Regions from separate parts of the Homo sapiens genome. Here regions 1, 2, 4, 5 and 6 are each linked to region 3. Evidence: promoter capture Hi-C in 16 types of primary human blood cells and fetal thymus (Javierre and others, 2016). All regions are on one chromosome and are shown on one strand. The core of a region is centred on a gene start or on the middle of the fragment in contact, and the rest is flanking DNA. Distances in the headings are between cores, read along the strand shown.

Region 1 (2,870 bases), core at 199-2,698, 310 kb before region 3:
TAGGCCTGGGTCCCTTCCCTGTGAAAGGCCACATTTAACAAGGTATGAGCAGTTTCTCTGGTTCGGGTGGCTGGGCCCTCACCTGAGAGGCAAAATCTGTACCTGTAAAAATACCTCGTTTATCCAGCCTCGATTCATGTATTAGGCAAATTTCCAATGAGCAGAAGCTTAATTCTTTAAAGGGAAGAAACTGGTTTTAAAAAATTAACCTTAAAAATGAAACTCTTTCTAAACTGTTATGAATACATGCTTCCTGTCTTCTTAGAGTGCACGCAATACCACGCAGGCCTTTCCAGGATGACTAAGCGACACCACCACGCACACACCAAGTGACCGAGTCACGCCAGCCTTCCTCCGATGACTCAGGCCCTGACTCTGTTACAAGCTATTTGTGGCCTCAGGCACCTGGAGTGAAAATGGCCCAGTGGTGAGTGCTGAATGATTCTTCCAAGTTTTGGATGTTTTCTCTCGTCCTTCAGTGCTGGACTATCAATTACCACTCTTTGTCAACATTATCTGATGAAAATACTTAAATACACCAAACCCAGGTACTCACCACCCAGCTAGTGACAGCGGTTCCGCACCCACCGCCCCACCGCACCGCTCCCAAGCACAGTAAATTAAGGCTCATATGTCATGTGATTTCATTGGTGAATATTCAGTGTCTATCTCTAAAAAATTAGGTCTCTTTTATAAAAACATGATCCAGTTACCACACCCAAGAAAAACGAACAATGATTCTTGAATAACATAAATCCAGCACCTGTAAAATTTCTAATTGTTTTATGAGTATTCATTTTTGGAACTTCAACAGAACCAAGTAAGGTTTACTGTACATGGCAGCTGGCCATAGGTCTCTCGAGTTTCCTTGACTCTGTGGTTCCCTCTCAGCCTCCTTTTACTTTCCCTGTGAGTTATTTGTTAAACGCACGTCGCTTCTTGATCCTGCCTCTGCCAGGGTGTTTTTAGTGGCCATTACTACTCTGCTATAGAATGAGGAACCAGAAGAGCGTTTCCGAATTGTGCCTGCCATGATGGTGAGCAGACAGTGCTGAGGATCCAGACTCCTCCTGGGGGAAGCAGCACCACGAGGTGGGTGCTGCGTCAGGCTCAGGGGCGCCCTGCTCCTCCGCAGCGCTGGGGGCGGCTCAGGAAAAGGTGACCGGCCGACAACACACTCACTCCTATGTCTAACATCAGACATAAAGAGGGGCGACAACCCCAGACCCCCAAACGCCAGGCAGCACTGCAGGCTGCACGGGTACAGAGTGGGCTCCTTGAGGGCCTCAGGAGTGACAGGACACCAACACGGTGGACACACTCGCCCTGGGTCTCACGGCTGGGGGTGGCTCTGGATCATGAAATACGTGCACAGACTGAAACACGGAGCCTAATCTCTGTCCCACCTCCCTCAGCCCCCAGGTTAATGCGGAAGGCACGCACCAGGCTCACTGCCCAGGGACCCAGGTCCAAAAATCTTCCAAGCAAGTCCAATGCTCTCAGCCGGTGCACTTGGCTTAACAGCACCTGGAAGAACAAGAAGAAAATGGTATCACTGCAAACCATACTGGTGTGCAACCCCGAAACGCTGCTGCATGAGCTGCCAGCTTTGGAGCGGTCTGACCACAGTTCAGATCTGTCTGCTGCTTCAGTTACCTAGAGCTGGTGCTCCTTTCCTTACAAGTTCATGCTTTTAGACAGGTGAAGAAAACACGCTTTATGCCTTTATTACACAGATAAAAGATGCTCAATGTAGAAAATACTAGAACAAACATGCTTTAATTGCATTTAAAAAGCTAACCCACTGGTGACATTTAGGTATATGAACTCAGACATTGTTCTTTATGTCCACACTTCTCTTACTGATCTTGAACTAGATAATATGTGATTCTATTTCTCAGCTCCTTTTTAAACTAAACAATGCACTGTGAACATTGTTCATATCAGTAGGTATGTACTGACCATATTATTCCCAAAGGCGGCACAGTACTTCCGTTATGCAAATGTACACAATTCTTTTAAACAACTTCCCCAGTGATAGATATTTAAATTATCATCAAAATGTTCCTACTTTTACCATTTTTATTTATTTATTTTTGAGATAGGGTCTTGCTCTGTTGCCCAAGCTAGAGTATAGATGCCAGATCATGGCTCACTGCAGCCTCAACCTCCTGGACTCAAGTGATCCTCCCACCTCAAACCCTGAGTAGCTAGGACCGCAGGTATGTACCACCATGCCTGGTTAATTTTTGTATTTTTTATAGAGATGGGGGTCTCACTACATTGCCCATGCAGGTCTTGAACTTCTGGCTCAAGCAACCCTCCCGCTTCAGCCTCCCGAAGTGTAGGGATTACAGGCGTGGGCCATCATGCCTGGCCAAAATGCTGCTCTGATAAAGAAGATTGTGATCAATATCCTAATGGGTACATCGGCACATGTACATGATTCTTTTCCACTAAGATAAATGTGAGTATTAAAAAGGTAAGGTCGGAGCATATATACTTAAGTTACCAAATGACCCTGAGGCTGAACCCACTCACACTCTCGACGGCACGCACGTGGGCACCAGCTTCCTGCTGCCTGAGCTGGTCACCCAGCAGCGCTCACTGCGGTGTGACTCTGGGCAAGTTAACGTCGCTGAGCCTTGATTTATTAATTCATAAAACACATATAACACAACACCTGCCCACAAGGGTTTCATTAAATTAAATAATAAATTTAAAGCTTGTGGGACAATACTAGCCCATATTACACTATTATTAGCCAAAAGGACAGGTGAAAATACATCCTTTTCATCTGGATTTCTTGGATTTCAAGGGGAGTACATTTTGCAGGTTGATGGGCCATTTCCCCAGTAAACTTGCCCTGC
Region 2 (2,758 bases), core at 26-2,525, 450 kb before region 3:
GCTGAGTCCTTAAAGAGAGGGGAGGGAGTGCCTTGGGGCTGGCAGGGTAGGTGGAAGGTGGACGATGGAGGCTGGGTCCAGCTGTCTTGCAGGCAGCTCGGGACGGTGCCCAGCGCTGTGCCCATCTTCTCTAGGGACAAATGTGCCCGTTGTTTCTTTTCACAGCTTATGGACTCAGATGCCAACGTAAGATTCCCTCTTTCATTTACATTCGCTTCTCTTTTAGTATAAAATTAACCTATTTCTGTTGCACAAAATTTAGAAAAGAAAGCATCCGAAAAAGCTAGCCCTGCTTTCATTTCGGGGTCTCTTTCGTGACACGTTTATCTCGTTACAAAAATGGACTATTCTTAACCCGCCCTGTCCCTGACATGCCAGGCGATTCCTCCTCCTACAGAAGCTAACTTTCACATGGGAAAAGGCACCACCACCGGCCCGGCTGTGCCCCGGGGGGTCAGTCTGGAGTCGCCGCAAACAAACGCGCCAAACACGGTGGTCCCGTACCCAGGCGCTGCGGAAGCCCGGCAGGACCCCGGCAGGACCCCGGCAGGCGTTCGGCGCACCTGTCGGCCGCTCCTCGGACCAGGGCAGACTTCCTTCCAGTCCTGGCCTGGATGGGGTGAGGGAGAGGGGATGCCCCGCGCTGCCTCGCGAAGCCGGCAGCACCGCCGGGGCTCCGGCCCAGGGCACCAGGAGGCAAATGAGCCGCGGGACGGGGGCGGGGGCAGCGACTCCGGGAGAGCCGGGACCTGCTCCCGCGGGCCCAGAGCCAGGGAAAGCCCAGCGCCGCGCGGACCCCACGGACGGGCCGCCAGGCTGTGGCCGAGCCCCGAACGCCGGCGTCGAATCCCGCAGTCACCAGCCGCGCCCACCCCGGCGGGGCTCGCAGAGGCGGACGCGCGGGCCCCGGGGAAGACGGCAGCCACGGCGCCGCGCAGGAGACCCCGGCCCGAGGCCCCGCGGGCGAGGAGGGACGCAGGGCGGAGAGACCGAGGGGCCCGGCTGCGCGCTGCGCCTCAGTTTCCCCATCCGAACGCGGGGGGCCGAGGGCGCGGGGCTCTTCCGGCCCCGCCGCCCGCCCCGGCCCCGTCGCCTGTCCCGGCCCCAGCCCTGACCCCGGGCCCGGGCCCTCACCAGGATGGCCTTGTCCTGCTCCGTGACGCGGCTCTGCTTCTTGCGGCCGAACAGGTTACCCATGGCGGCGCCCGCCCCTGGCCCGGGACCCACCAAGTCCAATCGCCACCGCCGCCCCGCGGCCACCGTAGCTCGGGTCCTCCCGCTACGGCGGCCGCGCCGGGCCAGGCGCCGCGGAACGCGAAGGCCGAGCGCCGCCTCCGGCCGCGCGCCGTTGCCGCGGGTTCGAAACCACAGCCCGCCGGTCTCGGCGACCGCCGCGAACACCGCGGCCTCCTTGGACCGGTACGGAGAAGTGGCACGGATACCTGGATGTTAGGGCCCGCGATGTTCGGGCCCGGGATGTTCTAAATGACGTGTTTCCGTGCACCCTTCCTGTGCAGGTGAAGGCAAAAATTTCTTATCTCCTAATTAGGTGGGATCCTTTTAGATTAACATAATTCAGTCTCCCCAGGCTTTCAGGAATCTTGTGCAGGAATCACTGTCCCACTGGCTCTGAACACAAAATGCCGCATTAATGATGTGATATCCAACGTTTTGCACTTTTTTTTTTTTTTTTTTTTTTAGATGGAGTCCTGCTCTGTCGCCCAGGGTGGAGTGCAGGGGCGCTATCTCGGCTCACTACAAACTCTGCCTCCCGGGTTCAAGTGATTTTCCTGCTTCAGCCTCCTGAGTAGCTGGGACTACAGGTGCCTGCTGCCACACCCGGCTAATGTTTGTTAGTAGAGACGGGGTTTCACCATATTGGCCAGGCTGGCCTTGAGCTCCTGACCTTCTGATCCACCCACCTCGGGCTCCCAAAGTGCTGGGATGACAGGCGTGAGCCGCCGCACCCGGCCCGCTTTGCACTTTAAAATGTTCCCTGAAATGCGACCAGCAGCGCCCTCCACCCAGCCTTTCAGCCCTGGGATCTTCCCTCTTCCACTGCGCTGCTCCCTGTCTGTAGATCAGTGCCAGGAGGAGACCAGCATGGCTGGGCTCAGCTTCTCCTTCCAAGGAATCGTGGCTGCGTCCCCCACAGAAGCATTCTTCCCTGGGGGGCTAAGAAACACATGAATGGGGATAAAGGGTAAAAGGGAGAAGCCACCCCGGTTCCCGCCTGAGTATCCTGACTGTGGTTCCTGAGCATTCACTAAGTGTCAAAGAAAAGCACTCAGCTGAGGATGGCTTGAGGCCAGGAGTTCAAGACCAGCCTGGCAACATAGCAAGACCCCCGTCTCTACAAAAAATATAACAAATAACATCAAAAGGAGAATAATTATCACCTGTTCCAAACCTCTGGACTCCAGAACCTTCACTGAGGTGAGGGGGCCCCTGAATTTTTGTGGGGTTCATCTCCCACCCTCTGATTTGTCTCACCAAGACATCTGAAGTACTTTTTTCCTTGGTGTCCATGGGGACGTTGAGGAAAAAAAAAAAAAAGACTTGCTACTCCCTGCTCCTCATGAAGGGGGAAGGAAGAGCTGGGTAGAGGAAGGCGTGATCCTTGGCTAGGGATCCCCCCACCGCCTGTGCCCACAAACCTAGGTGAGGACAGGGATTTTTGTTTTCCTGCCCAAATGTTGCATTTCCAAAGACCACCCTGGCCTGCCACGCCCCCATCCTGTCCCTATAAAATCCCCGA
Region 3 (2,923 bases), core at 125-2,624:
GTATATCAGACTTCTGCACTTCACCCAGCTTGGATATTTTAAAAAGTAGACTAATCATGTGGGTATAAAGATTATATCGCACGTTGTCCTTCCTCTAAGTGTTTACAGAACTAAGTAGTATGCCAAAGAGCATGTAAATACTCGCAATGCTCTATTTTCAAATTTGCTTAACTTTTATTATCTGAATTAGAACTTAGTTGGAATTGAATTAACACTACCCAGTGAATAATGACTAACCAAAACAGCATTTTCCATTTTCAACCAAAAACTGCAGTCTGAAATGGCTTTTGCTTTCTAGTTGACTTACAACGTGTGGCTAGGGGGAAATGTCGGCGCTTTCCCAAGGACACTTTTCGGGCTGTAAACTTTCTTTGTTGGGGAAACTACCAAGTTCAAGGGGTGCCTTCAGAATCCACTTACCCGATCCTTCATCCTCCAGCTCTGAGCTAAGGATTTGGAGCCTTCAATTTTCTCACAGTGCCTCTTTTTCATAAAAGCCAAAGGTAGGTTCCAGTCTGTAAGATCAGCCTCATCTTCCTCCCCCAGGCCCAGAAGAGGCGATTGCAGCATTTCGGACTCCATCAGTGGGGGAGGGGGTGGGGGAGTCCTTGGCAGCAAGCGCTCGAGAACCTCCAGCCTTAAAAACTAGCGTGTACCAGAATTGGTGAAATAAGAAACAAAAACGGGAAATCGAAAACCAAATGGATAAAGAGTGCGGAGACCCTTACTCAGGCAAAAGTCTGAGATCCTTATCTCTAACTCTGAGCGGGAAGTGGGGAGGTGGGGGCCGCTAGGAAATGGGGCAGCCCAAGAAGCTCCGCAGACACACACCACCCCAGGTCCCAAGCCACTGGCTGCTCCTGAGGCTGTACGTTTCCAGAGGGGCTGCGAGGGGAGCTGCCAAAAGCGTAAGAGACTTCAGGCCTCACGATGACCCTGCTCTCGGCCTCCACCGCCTCAGCAGTTCCGAAGACAGGCAGGCCGCTCTTGGTGCCGGTTCGCCCACTGGGCCGACTGGGCTGAGGTCTCCGGCCAAGGGATCGGGTTCAAAGGGCCCTGGGTCTCCTCCAGCCACTCTCAGCCCTGCGGGTCCCGCACTCGTCTGAGCTGCTGCAACCAGAGCCACGACCGGCCCATCGTGCTCGCCTGCACCCGGTTCCTCAACCTCAGGTCCGCGCGGCCTGGCTGGTCCTGGCCTTCAGCCCCGAGGCTCTCTCCTGCCTGAGAACGAGTCCTGAGAAACGGGCGACACGGAACCACGGAGGAAAGGGACAATGTGGGCTTATTGGGTCATGGGAGCTTTGCCCTCTGGTTTGGAGCTACAGTGAAACTCATCTCATCAGCCCATCAAGGAGGACGCCATATTGCCAGGACCCAGAATGCACCGCGGCCTACGGCGTGGCCGACAGACCAAACCTCCTCAGAGCGGTCTCTCCCCGCCACCCAGCATGCAGCGAAGGAGAAAGAGTCCCCGACCCCGTTACCTCGGTTACCATAATTCCGTTTTCCCCAGTTAATCGCCATTTGTTCAGTAGAGGCGTGTTATTAAAGTCAATCCTACAAATGAAACTGTCGGTTTAATTTATTTTTTCAAAAACATTGTCATTATAAATGAAGTTACATGCTCCTGAAATTAAAGGAATCAACCGCCTTGTTTCTTCCAGATTTTGAAAAAGCGGCAAAAGCTTCACTGATAATATTAGAAAATATTAAAAAGCACTGATAATATTAGAAAATATAGTACTTTTTTTTTTGGAGTGTAGTGTCCTCCACAGTGTCAATCAGATTTTCTCTTTAATTTTTTCATAGAGAACCAAGTGAAAGGCCGGGCGCCGTGGCTCACGCCTGTAATCCCAGCACTTTGGGAGGCCGAAGCGGGCAGATCACGAGGTCAAGAGATCGAGACCAGCCTGGCCAACATGGTGAAACCCCGTCCCTACTAAAAATACACAAATTAGCTGGGCGTGGTGGTGCGCGCCTGTAATCCCAGCTACTCAGGAGGCTGAGGCAGGAGAATTGCTTGAACCCGGGAGGCGGAGGTTGCAGTGGGCCAAGATCGTGCCACTGCACTCCAGCCTGGGAGACAGAGCAAGACTCTTCAGATGAAGAAGGGTCTGAAGCAACAGAAGAAGAGTCTGGAGCAAGATTCGATGAAAAAAAATTTCATCTAATACAATTTTTTGTTTAATCTGTTTCGTTTTCTGAGCAGTTTATCCTTTTTAAATTTTTTTCCCACTTCTTGGTAGCAGTAGTTTATTCTTATTTTGATATAGCTTCACGTGCAGACATCTAAAACTACATGTCTGTGCGTGGAGGCAAGCCTCTTGTGTGACTCTCTTTTTCAATTCAGGAAATTTGGCTCATTTACAATGTATAGAGAACTGTGTAAGGTGGACTATAAAACCAAATGTAGGCAGGGCACCGTGGCTCACGCCTATAATCCTAGCCCTTTGGGAAGCCGAGGAGGGTGGATCACGAGTTCAGGAGTTCGAGACCAGCCTGGCCAACATGGTGAAACGCCGTCTCTAATAAAAATACAAAAATTAGCTGGGCGTGGTGGCGTGCGTCTGTAGTCTCAGCTGCTCGGGAGGCTGAGGCAGGAGAAGAGCTGGAACCTGGGAGGCAGAGGTTGCAGTGAGCCGAGATTACACCACTGCATTCCAGCCTGGGTGACAGAGTGAGATTCCATCTCAAAAATAAATAAATAAATAAATAAATAAATAAGAATAAAACGAGGCCAGGCGTGGTGGTGCACGCCTGTAATCCCAGCACTTTGGGAGGCTGAGGTGGGTGGATCATGAGGTCAGGAGTTCAAGACCATCCTGGCCAAGATGGTCTTGATCTCTCAGGATGGTTTTCCGGGGCTTAGACACATGTGGCCATCCATATCAAAATCTTGATGGCATTTGTGTTCCTTTCAAAA
Region 4 (2,733 bases), core at 209-2,708, 380 kb before region 3:
AAAACACGTCCTGCTTCCTCTTCTGAAGTTTGGAAAAGGTCTCTAATGTTAAAGACACTCCTAAGACTGCAGTTGCTATCAGGAGTTACAGACGACGCCGACCACAACACGGCGCTCTTTTCCATCATGACACCCAGAGCCTGTTGTTTCAACGACAACCAAGTGAGCATTTGTTTTCAAATACTTGGCAGGGGCAGAGGAAGACAATCATTTACTCATTCAGCAACCGTTTCCTGATCAACCTCCTGTGTGATGGCAGCTCCTACATGGATCCCCTTGGACTAATCTCCTCTGCAGTGTCCACACAGCAGGACCTGCTGGCAGGGCCAGACCACAAGGCTGACACCCTCCAGCTCCTCCGTGCGGGCGGGAATTCTCAGATGTGCAAATGGAGGAGATGAGGGCAGGCGGAGGAGGGGCTGCTAATCTGAAGAAAGGGAGAGGAGACGCTGGCTTGGGGCTTGCACACACCGGAACAAATAGACACACACACACAGACACACAGAAACACACAGACACACACACGAGATACACATACACACATACAGAGATACACACACACATCACACAGACAGACACAGGGATACACACACACACATAGAGACAGACAGACAGACAGACAGACAGACACACACACGGCCTTCCACATGCCTCTGGGGAACTTCCTCCTGCAATCAGCTGCTGTGTACTTAAAAATGCTTAGGAAAGGAAAGCAAATCCTTTGGGGAAAAGTCAAATTCATTTTTAAGTTTAAGAGCAATGAGTTTTGGATTATCTATGCCATTCCTCTTTCATCATAGGATAGATGACTGAGAATAGGCATTTTTCAAGGACTTCAAGAAAAGCCTCTCGTTATCACACCAAGAAATTACCAACATGTACAGCCACTGCCATCCCAGCAAGAGCGAAGACCAGACCATGTGGGTTTCTTAGTCGCCTGACCTTGTCTGCCTTAAGCACGAGACCGCATCAAGGACACCAAGCTTGTTAACATTAGACTAAATTCCATTGACTTTTCAACAGACTGGGCCGCAGTTCTAGAGGACGGCCTGGCACCCCTGGCACAGTGTCCAGCCACCTCCCAGCTCTGGCTCACTCAGAGTTTGGGTGGCTCCTGCTTCCTGCATCCAATTCCAGGATTTGTGTATGCTTTCCTTTCCTAACCAGAAGCCTCCTAGTGATGGGAAGGGGCACTTCCCTCTGTCTGCAGGGGCCGCCACCCTCATGCCACCCGCAGGTAAGCAGCGGTGAGCCCAGCAGGTGGGCCTGGTGAGGGGCTTCTGACTAGGACTGAATCCACCAGCCTCAATGATCTCCTGGGGTTTGTTTCTTTGATTCTTTTCCCCCGACTCTAAAGGTGCTTCGTGCTTAGTGTAGAAACTGCAGAAGAGGCACAAAAGAAGCCCAATTCAGTGCAGTCGTGGGTGGCGCCATTTGCGAATCTCTAGTTAGGAGCGGGCTCTGCTGGTCTCCGTCGTATGCACATCTGTGTCTGTATGAGAAGCACGGCTGTGATTGTTCTGTAAATCTGGCTTCTTGGTCTGCATTTTGCATTTTTTCTTTTTAAGGAATGTTGTCATGAGCGCTTCCTTAGGACACTATTTTTAATGTTTAACTTTTCAGTAGCTCCAATAATATCTCATCAAATATTTCATAACTTTTTAACTATTCACCCTCTGTGGACATTTAAGTGAATCTCAATTTTCGTTCTTAGAAACAACACGGAAGTCATCTACATCTCTGATTATTTTCTCAAGACAGTATTTTAGCAGATTCATGACTGGGTCAAAGGGAACGGCTATTTAAGGCGTTTGATGCTTCCCGGCAAGACGCTTTCTAGAACAGCCAGGCCACTGTCCACCCAGGTTCATGTGAGAAGAGGGAGGCGAACTCCTCTCTCTTTGCAGTAAAGGGGCTCCGTAGTTCAAGCTTCATGGCTTGCCTGCCTCAGGGGCTGCCTGATGGTTCTGTTTTTATGAACAGAAATCAGCATTCACTATGAAGACAGGACCACAGGGACTGAGCTGTCATGGGGTCCAAATACCATTCACAGAGATGACTAAGACGCAAGCTTGATATACAATCGAGAATAAGCTGAGAGTTTCAGCTTTCAATTATATATGAGGGAAGAGGCAGGTTTGCTCAGAATGCACTTTAGATTTATAGAAAATCTCCACGAGTCCCTGCTGGGCCCTGGCAGAGAGATGAGCACTGGGACTGTGCTGACAAAGCAGCTCCCGCCCCATTCCTCGAAGAGGCCGAGAGCCGCCGCCCTGCCCCAGCCTGCAGGAACACAGCCACTGCGTCCACAGCACACGGCGCTTGTTAGGGCTGTGTCAGGGTTGAGCCTCAGAGATGGTCTTGTGGTGTAACCCCAAATGCGCTAGGATTGGCTGCAGCAGGCTGCGTCTAACAGTCCCCAGACCTCGGAGCCACGCAAGCGTGGCCTTGGGATGGGCCTCGAGTGATCCTCACCATTAGGGAGTGGGAAGGCCTGTGGTGACCCTGTCAGTTAAGGCAAAGTGACACCTGTCACACTGGGAAGCTCCAGCGAGGCAGGTTTTCTCTTTTCGTTTGGCGACAGGAAGGTAAGTGAAGTTTGTTTCTTCTGCGGTTCTACCTCAACCGTGACCATCACTACCACGACCACAATGGGACGCTCCCACAGCCACAAGCCTTGAGCGTTTATGCTCAAAGAAGTGGGACAGACACATGTTCGCTAGGACTCTACTC
Region 5 (2,954 bases), core at 103-2,602, 270 kb before region 3:
AAATGCAAAGCTAGACTCTCCCAACATGGTCCTGAAAATCCCACTGGTCTCTTCCCTAAGCTCATCGTGAAACCAGACAGAGTCATCTGCCCAGCCGACTTCAGACAGACCCAGAAATCATTCAAGTCGATGAACCAACCATCCAGTGAGCAAAAGCTGATGAGGCTTCTTGATCCAGCAGGCCTGGTCCTACTGGGGGTGACAAGGTGGAACCGAGTCCAGCATCCCTCACTTTTCACGTCACATAAAATTAAATCCTTGCAGAAACGATTTGTTTCTGATTTCCTTTCTGTACCTGATCCTAACCAATGCTGAGTCTTGCCCAACTCGGGAGGCCACTGAGATCACGAGGGGACCACAGAAGAAGCCTATTGGTGTATGTTGTCCATGTCAGACCATGTTTCATTCTAGAAGTTTCTCTGAACCCTCAAAGGGTTAATGATCAAGGTGGCTCTTTTAAAATTTAAATTCAGAGTGTTAATCAAGGACTTCTATGTGAAAACTGTAAAAAGCTACAGTTCAGGAAAAGACTCCTGAATTGGGAGACAAGAAAACTCAAGCGCTGGTCCCAGCCGTGCTATGGCTGGATGACTCGTGGTACCTGTTTCTCTGCTGAGTCAACACAGCTGACCCTGATGCAAAATGGCGACTAAAATAAAACAGATGACACTCCAACAACAGATGTGGCAGATGCCGGGGTGGCCCCCCAACAGGGCCCGCGCCTCCTCAAACTCTCCTTCACTGCCATTGGCAGGAGGGTTTATCTCCACCTTCCCCCACACTTCCGGGCTCACCTGTGGCATGCGGTTTCTTGCCAGGATTTATCTTCCTTACTGCAACATCCAGGTCATCATGATGACCCCGGCCCTGCTAGACTCTGGCAGAACTTCAGCATCCACACCCCATTTGTGCAACCACTGTAGAGTGCCAGGCCAGCTCCGAAATGCCAAGCAGGTGCCCTTCCCCTAAGGCCCCTTCTTCTTCCCTGACACCCCTGGCTGTCCCCACCACCACCCTCTGCTGGGAACTTGTCACTCAACAAGAGCTGCTGTGTCTCCAGCCCTCGCCTTTGATTCTCCACCAGATGCCTGAGGGATCACAGCCCATCACAGTCACTCTCCCAAGGGTGCTCCCTCCCCCACCCCTTCTCCCGGACCTGCCCGGCTCCCTGTCATTTGCCCCATCACTCTGCCTGCTCCCCACTTCCAGCATGAGGTGCCACCCACTCCTTGGGGCCCTGTCCCTCCCCGGTTCACTCACAGGTGCCCACGTGGCAGGTGCTTGCCTCCCAGTCTCTCCAGGTTCCTGCTCTCACCTGGATTCTCGGGGGCGCCTTCAGCTCCGTCTGCACTCAGGAGACGCAACACATGATCTCCTCCCCATGGGGTGGCCGCCTCACTGCCGTCCCTGGCCCCATCCATGCAGAGGACAAGGACAAGGGGCTGTGAGGTCATCAGGATGTCTCCCCTGCAGAACCCCCAGCCTTCCTTTTCCTTCACTTCCAGGCCTAAACTTGGGAGCCAGACAGACGGGGGCTTGAATTTGGCCAGAGACTGGCTCTGTGACTGTGGACTAGCTGCCCAGCCTCTCAGAGGCTTGGATTTTCTTCAGCATGAACATTTACACTACCTCCACCACCGCTGCCAGCTGGGCACTCATGCCGTGCCTCCCGCTGTGCGGCTCGGTGGACCCAGGCCCCCAAGTCACCCACCTGCCAAGTCCACCAAGACTTCCTTCCCAATGCCCACGCCAGGCAGGTCTTATGTTCACTTGCTTTTCAGATGGAGAAACTGAGGCTCTATGAGGGTGTGTCTTCCACTAGAGACAAGTGGCAGAAACCAGACCCAGACCCCGCAGCCGCCTCGCAGGAATGGGAGGACCAGGGATGGGCCGGGGAGACCACTGGCTGCTGGGGCTCAACATGCAGTGGCCGCTGGGGCCTTATGCCTGTCTACCCTGGGGAAAACCCATGTGGCCCTGAAGCTGGCACTAGCTAAGCTCTCCTTGGCCCCCGTAGGCTCCTCTTACCTGCCATGCGAAAGCTGGTTTCTGTCCTCACCGCCCTTCCAAGCCACCTCCTCCCAAGCCCCCTCACTCCAGTGGCTGGCCAGCCTTGCCTTTCTTCATTTGCTGAATCTGCAAATCCTGACTGTCTCTCCCCTGGCACCCGGCTCCTCCCTTAGTGACCTCTGGGAGCACTGCGTCGCCAGCTCTTTTCACACCCCAGGATCTGCTCCAGCGGCAGCCCTGCTCCTTCCAGGTCTCACGACAAGGCGCTTCCCTTCACCCTCGGCTTGCCTGGCATCACAGCTCAAGCGGAACGTGTGTAAAATCAAGTGCAATGCCTCCATCTTCTCCACTGCTGGTCCCCACTCCAAGAGTCCCTGTGGATTCGCGTTTCACTGAGGCTCGAAACCCCGGAGGCCCCAGGCCCTCAGCTGCTCTCTGGTCCTGCACTGGGGCCAGCCAGGCCTCCCAAAGATGCCTCTTCCCACCTCCTCTGCGGCACCCTGCAGCCAGGCCTGCCAGGCGTCCAGACAGCATTCTCGGGCCAGGCCCTTCTGCCCTGGCTCACGCTACACAGGCTGATGGCTCTTAACACACAGCTGGGCCCCCAAACATACAAGGTTCTCCACTGATCATTGTGGTGGTTTTCCATTACTTTTTAGCTACTCAAACAAAATCTTATGCAGGACAAAGGAAAGCAAAACTCCTCTGGCTGGAGGAGTGAGGGCCAAGAGCCCAGTGGCTCTCCGACTGCCTGCGTAGAAGCTGTGTCCACGCCCCTCGGGTCTCGAGAATCGCTCCGTGGAAGCCACCTCGCCAGTCGGGAGGATGCTCTGCACGTGATGGACTGTCCAGCCCTGATTGACGGGGCACGTGGAAGCCACCTCGCCAGTCGGGAGGATGCTCTGCACGTGACGGACTGTCCAGCCCTGATTGACGGGGCACGT
Region 6 (2,966 bases), core at 419-2,918, 330 kb before region 3:
AAGGAGGAGGGACGGGCCCCTAGAGGAAGGGGCTTCCGAGGGTCCTGTGGGCGTCCTGGAGGAAACAGGCCGGCTCTGAGGCTGGCAGTGTTACCGGAAGCCACACCAGGCTGCCTAACTTGGGGACACTTCTGCAAGTGCTGGCTCTGGAAGGGAATAAAATGATCCTGCCTTGGATATTCAGGGGTAACGATAATACTTCGGGAAGTATTTGCCCAAAACCCGAGGAAAAGGGGCAAGATTTGAAACAAAACTAAGTTTCAAGTCCAGGTTCTCCCTCTTACTAGTCAGGGACCCAGGTAAAGTTTTAAAAATCTGTGCTCAGCTGGGCGTGGTGGCTCATGCCTATAATCCCAGCACTTTGGGAGGCTGAGACAGGCGGGTCACAAGGTCAGGAGTTCGAGACCAGCCTGGCCAATATGGTGAAATCCTGTCTCTACTAAAAAATACAAAAATTAGCAGGGTGTGGTGGTGCGTGCCTGTAGTCCCAGCTACTCGGGAGGCTGAGGCAGGAGAATCGCTGGAACCTGGGAGGCGGAGGCTGTAGTGAGCTGAGATCGCACCACTGCATTCCAGCCTGGGCGACAGAGCAAGACTACGTCTCAAAAAAAAAAAATCTGTGCTCAGGTCGTGGAGTCAGAGATGAAACCACGCATGTGAAAGCAGTCTGAAACTGCAGTGCGATGTACAAATCATGGATGCTGTGTTTCTTGGAGAGGGACCCACAGAGCATGGGTTTCTAGGATCAATACCTAGAAACTGAGCAGTGACAGACACTGCATCGACAGAGTGAGGCGTGCGTTCTGCCAGCTCCCAGCATGCTCCTTTCCAGAGGACGAAGGCCATGCAAGGACAGAGGGCCGGAATTTTAAGAACTGGATGCCTGAGGATCAAGAAGAGAACGGCTCTCCAGTGCAGCCCTGCACAGCTGGCCCTTTCCCACTGAGGCAGGAGCAGTTTTGCAGAGGGAATCTGCTGGTTATGCAGCCCAGAAGCCCCTAACCCCGCCATTTCTCAGGGGTGCTCTTACAATGAGGTGTTTCTGCCTCACATCAATACACTGATGAGGCGGGTTATGGGCTGGGCTGCTGGAATGAGAGCTGAGCACGATGGGGAGCGGGTGGTCAGGGAGCCAGGCGCCGGCCTCAGATTGCAAGCTGCTCCCCCGAGCTGAGGAGGCCAATTAAGCAGGCAGTTTTCAAGCAACAACTGGCTTTAGCTGAAGGTTTTGACAAATAAACTGAGATGCATCGACCGCCGTCCACGTAAAGACTCAGCCCAGAGGGCCAGGGCAACAGAAAAAGCACTGGGTTCTGAGAATGAAGGCACCTTCCTTTGTTTTAACCACAGGTTCCACAAGTCAAATCGAAGCCCACACATTCACGGTGAAGCTCCTCAAACATGTCTCACGAGAGTGTAATGAAGCATCACTGACTCAAATCTCACTAATTCTGAATTTGAGGCATGCAAATCAGGGTGGGAGAACTTAGATGTGCCCTTGGTATCGGAGTCTGGCAACTATGTGGTGTATACTACCAGATGTCTGTTCTGATACGGTCATTATGCCAGGTGGGAACCACGGATGATGATGCCTTTTCATACCTTCATTTTCAGCGCTCGGCAGGGGTCATTTACATATCTGTTTAATACACACATTTTCACTAACTCAAACCGCCCCCACCCTCCCCGCAGGCAGGAACCTGGGAGCTCCCACTTCGCTGGCTAGGGGGACTGGGGTGGACTCTCTCGGCTGCTGCTCACTCGCCCAAATTACAAGCACACTTAGACCAAGGGCCTCGTTAAACAGAAGAGGAAACAAGACTTGAAACCACACACGCGCAGAACGGCAGCCAGCAGGCAACACACACTCCCTGCGTGGCACGGGCTCAGTGGGAAGACCCAGCAGGCGACACACACACATCCTGGGCGGCACGGGCTCGGTGGGAAGACCCAGCAGGCGACACACACACCCTGCATGGCACGGGCTCGGTGGAAGACCCGGCAGGCGACACACACACCCTGAGTGGCACGGGCTCGGTGGGAAGACCCGGCAGGCGACACACACACCCTGCATGGCACAGGCTCGGTGGAAAACCCAGCAGGCGACACACACACCCTGTGTGGCACGGGCTCGGTGGAAGACCCGGCAGGCGACACACACACCCTGTGTGGCACGGGCTCGGTGGAAGACCCGGCAGGCGACACACACACCCTGCGTGGCACGGGCTCGGTGGAAGACCCGGCAGGCGACACACACATCCTGGGTGGAGGGGCTTGGTGGAAGACCCGGCAGGCGACACACACACCCTGCGTGGCACGGGCTCGGTGTGAAGACCCAGCAGGCGACACACACATCCTGGGCGGAGGGGCTTGGTGGAAGACCCGGCAGGCGACACACACACCCTGCGTGGCACAGGCTCGGTGGGAAGACACGGCAGGCGACACACACACCCTGCGTGGCACGGGCTCGGTGGGAAGACACGGCAGGCGACACACACACCCTGCGTGGCACGGGCTCGGTGGGAAGACACGGCAGGCGACACACACACCCTGCGTGGCACGGGCTCGGTGGGAAGACACGGCAGGCGACACACACACCCTGCGTGGCACGGGCTCGGTGGAAGACCCGGCAGGCGACACACACACCCTGCGTGGCACGGGCTCGGTGTGAAGACCCGGCAGGCGACACACACACCCTGCGTGGCACGGGCTCGGTGGAAGACCCGGCAGGCGACACACACACCCTGCGTGGCACGGGTTCGGTGGGAAGACACGGCAGGCGACACACACACCCTGCGTGGCACGGGCTCGGTGGAAGACCCGGCAGGTGACACACACATCCTGGGCAGCACGGGCTCGGTGGAAGACCCGGCAGGTGACACACACACCCTGCGTGGCACGGGCTCGGTGTGAAGACCCAGCAGGTGACACACACATCCTGGGCGGCACGGGCTCGGTGGAAGACC

Evidence for each region. The method cuts DNA at HindIII sites, captures the fragments that hold promoters and counts their contacts. A CHiCAGO score of 5 or more calls a contact.
Region 1: a fragment that was not itself captured here is called in contact with the fragment with the promoter of RPTOR in region 3 in 1 of 17 cell types (naive CD4 T cells); the score reaches 5.8 in naive CD4 T cells.
Region 2: the fragment with the promoter of CHMP6 here is called in contact with the fragment with the promoter of RPTOR in region 3 in 3 of 17 cell types (naive CD4 T cells, megakaryocytes and activated CD4 T cells); the score reaches 5.4 in naive CD4 T cells.
Region 4: a fragment that was not itself captured here is called in contact with the fragment with the promoter of RPTOR in region 3 in 8 of 17 cell types (activated CD4 T cells, total CD4 T cells, naive CD4 T cells and 5 more); the score reaches 10.1 in activated CD4 T cells.
Region 5: a fragment that was not itself captured here is called in contact with the fragment with the promoter of RPTOR in region 3 in 5 of 17 cell types (activated CD4 T cells, naive CD4 T cells, non-activated CD4 T cells and 2 more); the score reaches 6.6 in activated CD4 T cells.
Region 6: a contact is called between a fragment that was not itself captured here and the fragment with the promoter of RPTOR in region 3, in 7 of 17 cell types (naive CD8 T cells, naive CD4 T cells, total CD4 T cells and 4 more). The highest score is 8.1, in naive CD8 T cells.

Annotation. Positions count from the first base shown.
Region 1 is chr17:80,854,121-80,856,990 of GRCh38, reverse strand. It overlaps RPTOR (regulatory associated protein of MTOR complex 1), which reads right to left. Exons shown (of 34, transcript NM_020761.3): 12 at 1,444-1,527. Among named protein-coding and RNA genes, the nearest start is that of CHMP6, 140 kb to the left of the region's middle. RefSeq lists enhancers at 162-311, 1-385, 322-471, 208-502, 1-1,021 and 2 more. The HindIII fragment of the contact is 2,558 bases long and covers 170-2,727 here.
Region 2 is chr17:80,990,358-80,993,115 of GRCh38, reverse strand. It overlaps CHMP6 (charged multivesicular body protein 6), which reads right to left and starts at 1,275. Exons shown (of 8, transcript NM_024591.5): 1 at 1,135-1,275. The coding sequence starts at 1,197. RefSeq lists silencers at 573-762, 773-922, 1,053-1,382. The HindIII fragment of the contact is 12,121 bases long and covers 1-2,758 here.
Region 3 is chr17:80,543,289-80,546,211 of GRCh38, reverse strand. RPTOR (regulatory associated protein of MTOR complex 1) reads right to left here and starts at 1,374. Exons shown (of 34, transcript NM_020761.3): 1 at 421-1,374. The coding sequence starts at 582. RefSeq lists enhancers at 27-853, 781-880, 1,161-1,520, 854-1,680. The HindIII fragment of the contact is 2,750 bases long and covers 1-1,687 here.
Region 4 is chr17:80,925,504-80,928,236 of GRCh38, reverse strand. All of the region lies in intron 24 of RPTOR (regulatory associated protein of MTOR complex 1), which reads right to left. Among named protein-coding and RNA genes, the nearest start is that of CHMP6, 65 kb to the left of the region's middle. The HindIII fragment of the contact is 946 bases long and covers 986-1,931 here.
Region 5 is chr17:80,815,833-80,818,786 of GRCh38, reverse strand. All of the region lies in intron 7 of RPTOR (regulatory associated protein of MTOR complex 1), which reads right to left. Among named protein-coding and RNA genes, the nearest start is that of CHMP6, 170 kb to the left of the region's middle. The HindIII fragment of the contact is 7,384 bases long and covers 1-2,954 here.
Region 6 is chr17:80,876,003-80,878,968 of GRCh38, reverse strand. The region is part of intron 13 of RPTOR (regulatory associated protein of MTOR complex 1); the gene reads right to left. Among named protein-coding and RNA genes, the nearest start is that of CHMP6, 110 kb to the left of the region's middle. RefSeq lists enhancers at 1-377, 1,595-1,644. The HindIII fragment of the contact is 5,418 bases long and covers 1-2,966 here.